Linked DNA regions of Homo sapiens: region 2 is linked to region 1. Evidence: promoter capture Hi-C in 16 types of primary human blood cells and fetal thymus (Javierre and others, 2016). All regions are on one chromosome and are shown on one strand. Each heading gives the region's core, a stretch centred on a gene start or on the middle of the fragment in contact. The rest is flanking DNA. Distances are from core to core; before and after follow the strand shown. Region 1 holds the start of RAB8B (RAB8B, member RAS oncogene family). Region 2 overlaps USP3 (ubiquitin specific peptidase 3).

What was found. Contacts are between HindIII fragments. The CHiCAGO score rates a contact against its expected background, and 5 or more counts as called.
Region 2: a fragment that was not itself captured here is called in contact with the fragment with the promoter of RAB8B in region 1 in 8 of 17 cell types (fetal thymus, naive CD4 T cells, activated CD4 T cells and 5 more); the score reaches 10.1 in fetal thymus.

The regions. Positions count from the first base shown.
Region 1 is chr15:63,187,609-63,191,061 of GRCh38, reverse strand. RAB8B (RAB8B, member RAS oncogene family) reads right to left here and starts at 1,456. Exons shown (of 8, transcript NM_016530.3): 1 at 1,314-1,456. The coding sequence starts at 1,437. It overlaps LOC101928972 (a long non-coding RNA gene), which reads left to right and starts at 1,631. Exons shown (of 4, transcript XR_932355.4): 1 at 1,631-2,216. RefSeq lists a silencer at 1,372-1,701 and an enhancer at 1,882-2,031. The HindIII fragment of the contact is 3,523 bases long and covers 1-2,818 here.
Region 2 is chr15:63,507,798-63,511,603 of GRCh38, reverse strand. The region is part of intron 1 of USP3 (ubiquitin specific peptidase 3); the gene reads right to left. Among named protein-coding and RNA genes, the nearest start is that of USP3, 5.1 kb to the right of the region's middle. The HindIII fragment of the contact is 168 bases long and covers 1,771-1,938 here.

The sequences.
Region 1 (3,453 bases), core at 207-2,706:
TAAGGTGGTCACTTCTAAAACAGCTTAAAACCAGCTTTGACTTGGTCTTCAGTTTATGATAAGTTAAGAGATCTTATTACCTGAACACAGTGTCTTCCAGTACAAAAGTAGAAAGGACAGCTCCCAGCCAGGATCAGAAAAACTCTTGATTCAATTGGAAGTAACTGAGAGGTATATCACATGTTGTGATTCACTTAACAATAATTAGAACCAAAGCAAAATATACAGGGAGGCAGGTAGAATGTAAGTTCATTTCCTTGGCTGAGAAGCTGTTAAACATTCAAACCGAAGGATTTAAAATACTGAGAAGTCTTGCTTCTCAGGAGATGGTAGTAAAGAGGTGAACCATATTTTCCTGACCACATCATTTCCAAAAGTCACCAATTCCCTTAACATCCATTAACACTCACAGAACAAATTAACGCTCTATAGACATTATTCCATCATTAGTCACATTTTGCTTTCTCCTGCACTTGATCCAAAGGAAGTGAAGAGAAAATGGTAATCAGTTACTATAGCAAGTCTTGCGCCCCACTACTTTCCATTTCCTCTCTTTTCCATCTCCTCTGTCTTCTCTGCTCAACCTCCCTTTACTATGATGTTGCTTCCTCTTTTCCTTTCTGTCTCACACCCAGATCCCTTTACTTTCTCCATCAAGTATCCTCATTCTGCCCTCTGATCCCTTGAACTCTTCTTCCACCTACAATTTTCTTCTGTCCCCTCCTACGACATCTCAGTCCAGACCTCCTGTGGCCAGCCGTCCCCTTCTTCCTCACCTCCTGACCGCTCATTCCCCTGAATTCCCTTCCAGTTGCCTGGTTCTCACCTCTCTGTCCCTTGTGTCCTCTGTCCCTTTACTTCACATCCCTCTCATTGCCCCCATCCCTCATTTCCCCCTTCACATTTCCTTCCTCTCCTGTCTTTTAATCATTGGCACGTCCACTATCCCCTTCTCTCTACATGAGATTTCCTGAGTCTTCCCCCCAACACATTTTGTCCCTCAAAGACCCCTCCCTGTCAGTCTCCGAACCCTCTCGTTCCCCCAATACCCCTAGTCCTTGTTCCTCTGTTCCCCTTCCCGTTCCTTTGCCCCCAAGTTCCCCCTTCGCCCTTAGCCTCACGTTCCCGCTCGCCTCTCTCCCTCACGCCCTCGCCCCTCTCCCTCACGCCCTCGCCCCTCTCAGTGCCCCCGCCACCTTGCAGTCCCCGGGGTCTCCTCTCCCGGGCTCCCAAGCGCCCCCCGCCCTTTCCCCGTCCCCTAGTACCCGCCCCCCAATTCTCTACCCGGTCCCGGGCCGCGGCCCCTCCCTCACCGATGGTGGAGATGAAGGTGGTGTTGAAGGCGTCCTCTGAGAAGCGGAACAGGAGGCAGGTCTTGCCTACCCCCGAGTCGCCGATCAGCAGGAGCTTGAAGAGATAATCGTACGTCTTCGCCATCTTCTCGCTCCGGCCCTCTGACCGGGGAGCCAGAGGAGGCGGTGGAGAGAGGCGGGGAGGGGGCCGCGGGCGAGGGGGCGTGCCCGCCAATCCGCCGCTGCTCGCCCCGCCCCACGCCCCGCCCCTCCTCTCGGAGAAGGCCTGCGCGCCCCGCCCCGTGCGGCCAATCGGCGAGGGCTTCGTCATCACCGCCCGCGCCCCGGGACTTCATGGGACTTGTAGTTCCTCCGGGGAGCCTCGGGCGTGCCCCGCGAGGACTGTCCAGGCGGCTCCAGCGGATAAAAGACCTGCTATGGGCGGGGTGACAGGGTGGAGGCGTTTCCACCCGAGCTGGGAAGGGAGGCCCCGTTTCGTACTCTGCTGGTCGAGCCGCGGGAACTTAACTTTGTTATTTCTTTGTGTGCAGACGCCTTCCAAATCCAGGACCTCAGAATCAGAGCCCCGTAGTTCCCGCATCTCTTCCGCCGAGACCTGGAGCAGAGATGCTTTCTTTCCTTGGCGCTGCTGTGGCGCAGCCTACGGGTTATCTGCAGAGGGCATTATCCAGCTTCTCCCCGAGGCCATGCCCAGCACCACTATAACCCCCTCCCGCAGCCCCTCAGTCACAGAGCTGAGAAAGAATGGTTACCATGCTAACTCGAACCTCACTCGTGCCCCCTTCTTCACGCCACACAGACCAGAGCCAAATACAATGAGTATTTAGAGAATCTGCTACGCTGATCGCTCCCCTCTCCTCGCAGGAGGATGGATTTTTAAATCTGGGAAGTCTTGTGCTACAGGTCTGTGCCCCATGAAACTGCAAGCATCCTGTGAGGCGGGCCACGGGAATTTAGAGAGTAAGATTTGAATTTAGTCTTGGCTCTGCTGCAAAACCGCTGTGACAAGTCACACAGGCACTGGACATTTCAGTTTTCTCATCTGTAAAATGGATATGAAACAAGATACTTCATAGGGTTCCAGTGAAACTTAAATACTAAATGTGAAAGTTCTTTGAAACCCATAAGGCACTGTTAGCAGTGATGGTAATATTCATTACTCTTCAGTAGGCTCTCACTTAATTGATGACGAATATAGGGAGGAAACAGCATTCTGTTATACTCAAGTTAATCCTTTATTATTTATTGTCTTAGGCTAATTCTCTGTTTTGTGGATGTATTGTTCAGTCCCCTTTCATTTGCTAGTGGCAGAAACCCAACCGGATTAGCTGTTGTGAAAGGGGTGTTGACTGGTTCAGGTAATGTGGAAGCAAAAGGCTAAGAAGGTGTGGGACTAGGAGTCCACCCTGCCAGGGCTCTGTGTCTCTCATCTGTTGTTCTCCCTTCGAAGTTTTAATTTCTAATATGTCAAATACCGACAGGTAAAACCCACATGAAAAAAAGCTTCTTGGAGTCTTCAATAAGTTTTAAGAGGATGAAGGGGTCTTGAAACCAAAGTATTTGAGAACCACTGGTCCAGACATTTACCTTAGCTATAAGGAAACACCTTCTGGAAGGCTAGAGGTTATTAAGGGAACCAGTGGACTCCACCATTAGTGGAATAAGAAAAGGGGGGGGGGGAAAAACCGTGGACAGTTAGTTGAACAAACCAGCAGGCTTTTCTAAGGACACATACTGTGTGCCTTGTGACTTTAGGAACAGTGCCACTGATAATCCATTCTCAGTTGCATTGTGGCAGAAGACTTAGTTGGCCCTAGAATTGGCCTTCATTTTCTATGCGGGTAAAAGATGAAATGTGTCATCATTAACTGATTGATCATACAGTAGCCAGAGGGCTGCTGCTGCTGCTGCTGCTGCTTACGGAATGTCTCATTCCTAGAGTCCACTAGATAGGAACAAAGCTCTAATGAGTTCAAAGTCACAGTGTCTGCCCCTAATGAAGAAGGATTCTGCCCTCTGGCACAGGCTGAGCCCTCTTGCCCAAGCCAGTCCTTGAGCAAGCCTCTGAACGTGGCTTCAGCCATGATCTGAACAGTGTGGATTGTTCTATATCTTCCTCCTCATTCCTGGAAAAGAAGGG
Region 2 (3,806 bases), core at 605-3,104, 320 kb before region 1:
ATGTCTGAACTAATGCAATATGAATTTCGGCCTATAAAAATATTAGATCTGAGTATAACAAGGTTGACATTTAAAATAGTTGTTTCTTCCAAACTATATCACCAATTCCTTGTTCCAACTTGCCAGCACTTTCAATATTAAATTGGGTGAGGGGGGTAACAAAAGACCAAATTTTAAAATAAGTAATTTTTGAGATGTGGAACTTAAAATATATTTTCATATCAAAAATCTTCAAAGGAATTATTTAAAGTATGTGTTCCAAACATTTTGTATTTTTTAAATTGTCAAGCATTAAGTTACTGAATAACAAAATAAAGACTCTTTTTTTTTTTTTTTTAAGAAAAAGCAAGCTAAAAGTCTGAACAGTGTTAGAGTTTAAGCTTTGGGCTATCTTTAATACTCCCCAAGCATCTTGGGCAACTCGTAACCTTTGTCTCAGTTTCATAATCAATAAAATAGGAAAAACTACAAGGATGAATAATTAATTAAATTAGTCAGGATTAAATGCTAGCAAACTGCTTTGAAGTTACTTTATGTTGTTCTCAGTTATCTTCCTACTCAGTAAAACTAATAGATGAGAAAACATCTGGAATTACTATAGATAATCACATCTGCAGACTCACAGCAGTTAAAAAGACGATCTCTACAAATTTCTAAGCCAAAGTTCATTCAACGACCCCAAAGATTTTAAGATACAACCACAATGAACAATTTTAGGTGAATTTCTTTTCAGTCTCAAGGACACCTATTCTTACCTACATTCTCAAAAGAAACCACTACACAGAAATCTCAGAGCATCTTGAGGGGTCTTGGCACAAGACAATTCTAGGTAAGATGAACAAGCTGTTACTGTTGTTAATGCTATTCTCAGCATTCTAAACTGTCAATCAAGGTAAGCTTAATCACAAACACACCCTCCAAAAAGTACTAGCCCCTACTGAGAACCCATCAAAGTACTTCCTTCCAAGCCATCTGTCCAGGAAAGCTCTATTAACACACCTAGAATGCAATTGCTCTCCTGTCTAAAGAGGCAATGAATAAACATAAAATATCAAAATATGTTAAACAGCATACCTTTTCCACTTCAAACAATGATAATCTACCGACTAAATCTATTTATTTCAATGCCTTGGTTGAACACAAACCTGTATGTATGTAGGTCAGAGACTGCAGCTTAATCAAAGGAGACTAACATTTTGTTTTCAAAGAAGGAAAAATATTAAAAACAAACAAACAAGCTCAAGAAGGGGAGAAAAGCTCAAAAAGAAAAAAAACGAGCAGGTTAGGTTAGGGGAAATGTACATGTTAATCAGCTCCTGATGGAAGAGGGACTCAAATTTTAAAACAGGAATTTAAATGACTCACTGAGCTACACACTAAATTACTCACTGGTCTACTCACTGAGCTGCAAACACTATAAAAACATAAGTATTTCTAAATCTAGCTTGAAGGATCCAAAATCAATCTTTTATATTCCAGTGGAGAAGGAAATTACATACATTTCAATGAGGAAAAAGGAGGCTGTTACACGAGCCTAAGGCTAATGGTGTACAAGCAAAGAATGAGAATAAATTATTTTGAGGATAAATAACAGGAAACCACACCAAAGAGTTCGAATTCTTCCCCCAACTCCATCATTTCTTCTGCTTAGACCATGAAGGATGTTCTGTATACACTATTAAGCATATTATTAGGGAAAGAACTTCTCATCAATGTGTCAAAACTTCTTCACAACAAGTAAATGTTAGGCTCAATCTCTATACTGAAGCTTCTTTAAACAAAACACATACATGGAGCACATTCTAAATTTCACACATTTCACATCCATGAGCAATCATTTAGAGACTCTAGAAATAAGCTGAGATTGCTCTAAGATTCTGGGGGACGGGGTTGGGGAGGAATACTGCAGAAAGACTAGAAAGACATTTGACTTAAGCTTTATAAATATTACCAAAAAAGTTTAAATTCTTCAGAAGGATATATAAAACTCAAATACTACTTTTTAGAATTAATGTGAAAAAAGTATCACCTGTCCACTGATTTTTAACTACCCCATCCACATTTACAACTAAATTGTCCACCTGCCCATCTATAAATACAGACTGCCAAAAGAACACAAATTCATTGTGATAACAACACTGCAGATGGTCATTTGCTCACAATCCAGCCAACGTTTACTGACTAAAATACTGGGAGTGCGGGCTAGTGAAAGCATTCTGGGGAAAGTTCACTCTGCGTTTATTTTCAACATAAAGACCCTGCCAGACACATCTAAGTGATAGTTCCTTTATTTATCAGGCAAATATTTACTAATTGCTCTATTAAGTATTAGGCACTTAATAAAGACATCATAGAATGTTACTAAAAAGCAGTAAAAGCATTTGACCTAATGACAAGGAAATGACTGATTGTATTTAGAAAATTTAGTCCACTGGGCAAACGAGTGTTAAATGTAGGTTGTGGAGAAATACGATACAAAATAACCCATCACTCCATCAAGGTTGATTTCTTCTCTTTATCACAACCTGATCAGTCCATTACAAATTTATTACCACTGACAACCAATAATCAACACCTCATCCTACTGAATGGATCTCTTAAAAAAGGGTTTATCTCCAGTATTTTGGGTGGAATTATCTGCAGTTTTTGGTGCAAAATTGCAGAACATTTACTTGATCTACACTTACTTTTCTTGGGTAGAGTAATATGAAGGCAAGTGTGTACTGAAAACTTAAAGAGGCACTCTCAACTCATTGAAGAATTAATCAGGGAAAAATTAGCATGCCTATCCTACTAAATATCTCTAATTTAACTGGCTGTTTAACCCAAACCCTCAAGTTCAAATGCTTGGTCCTTGGCTTTCCTTAGTTATCAAAACACTTGCATTCAGGGCATCTTTTTAAACAATTTTTGTTTTTTCCCACTGGTTAAACTCTTTTACCCACAAAAATAAGGAATGCCCAAGCCTCCAACTTCTGAAAATAACATCTGGTATGTGCACATAACAAAAAGCTTGAGAGAATGCCCTTTTATTTAAAACTTTTTCATTTTAAACTAGAATCCCTTAAGCAACAATTAGACATAAATCAGCCTTTACGTTATTAGGAGATAGCTATTTTCAACATTTACCTTAAACCACATGGATGTATCTTCTAACTAGTTAGCTTCCTGTCTCTCCCCCAGCTAGATTAGACTGTTAACTTTTTTGGCAGCAAAGGACTACTAGAGCCCATGCTCTATTTCCCAGCTAATACATTTCAAAAACCTCAGGTCTCTACAGAAACATAAACGTTGGTAGCCTTAAGGATTTCTCTAATTTTTTAAAGTTATTTTGATATGAGCAGGTATCCTTAACTGTTAACTATAGCTTACACAAGTGGGTTCTCAAAGTGTGGTCCTGGACCCCTGAAAGTTTCCAGGACCCATTCAGGGGATCCAGAAGGTCAAAACAATTTTCATACATAATATTTAAGATGTTACTTTTGTTTACAGTCATTCTCTCACAAGCATGCAGTGGGGTGTTCCTGAGGCTGCATGATGTGACATCTCAAGAGACTGAATGCAGAAGCAATGTAAGAATCCAGCTGTCTTCTATAAAGCTGAACAAAGAGTTACAAAAAGGCAAAATAATGCCATTCTTCCCACTAAATTTTTGTTTTGAAAAACATTTTACATAAACTGTCAATTTATGTTATGGGTGTGGGTCTATTATTATTTGTAAGCATATTAATAAATACATATTTTAAGTTTTTCTCAGTTTTAATTTCTAATAAACATCATCAACAGATATAAGCTACACGAAGGCT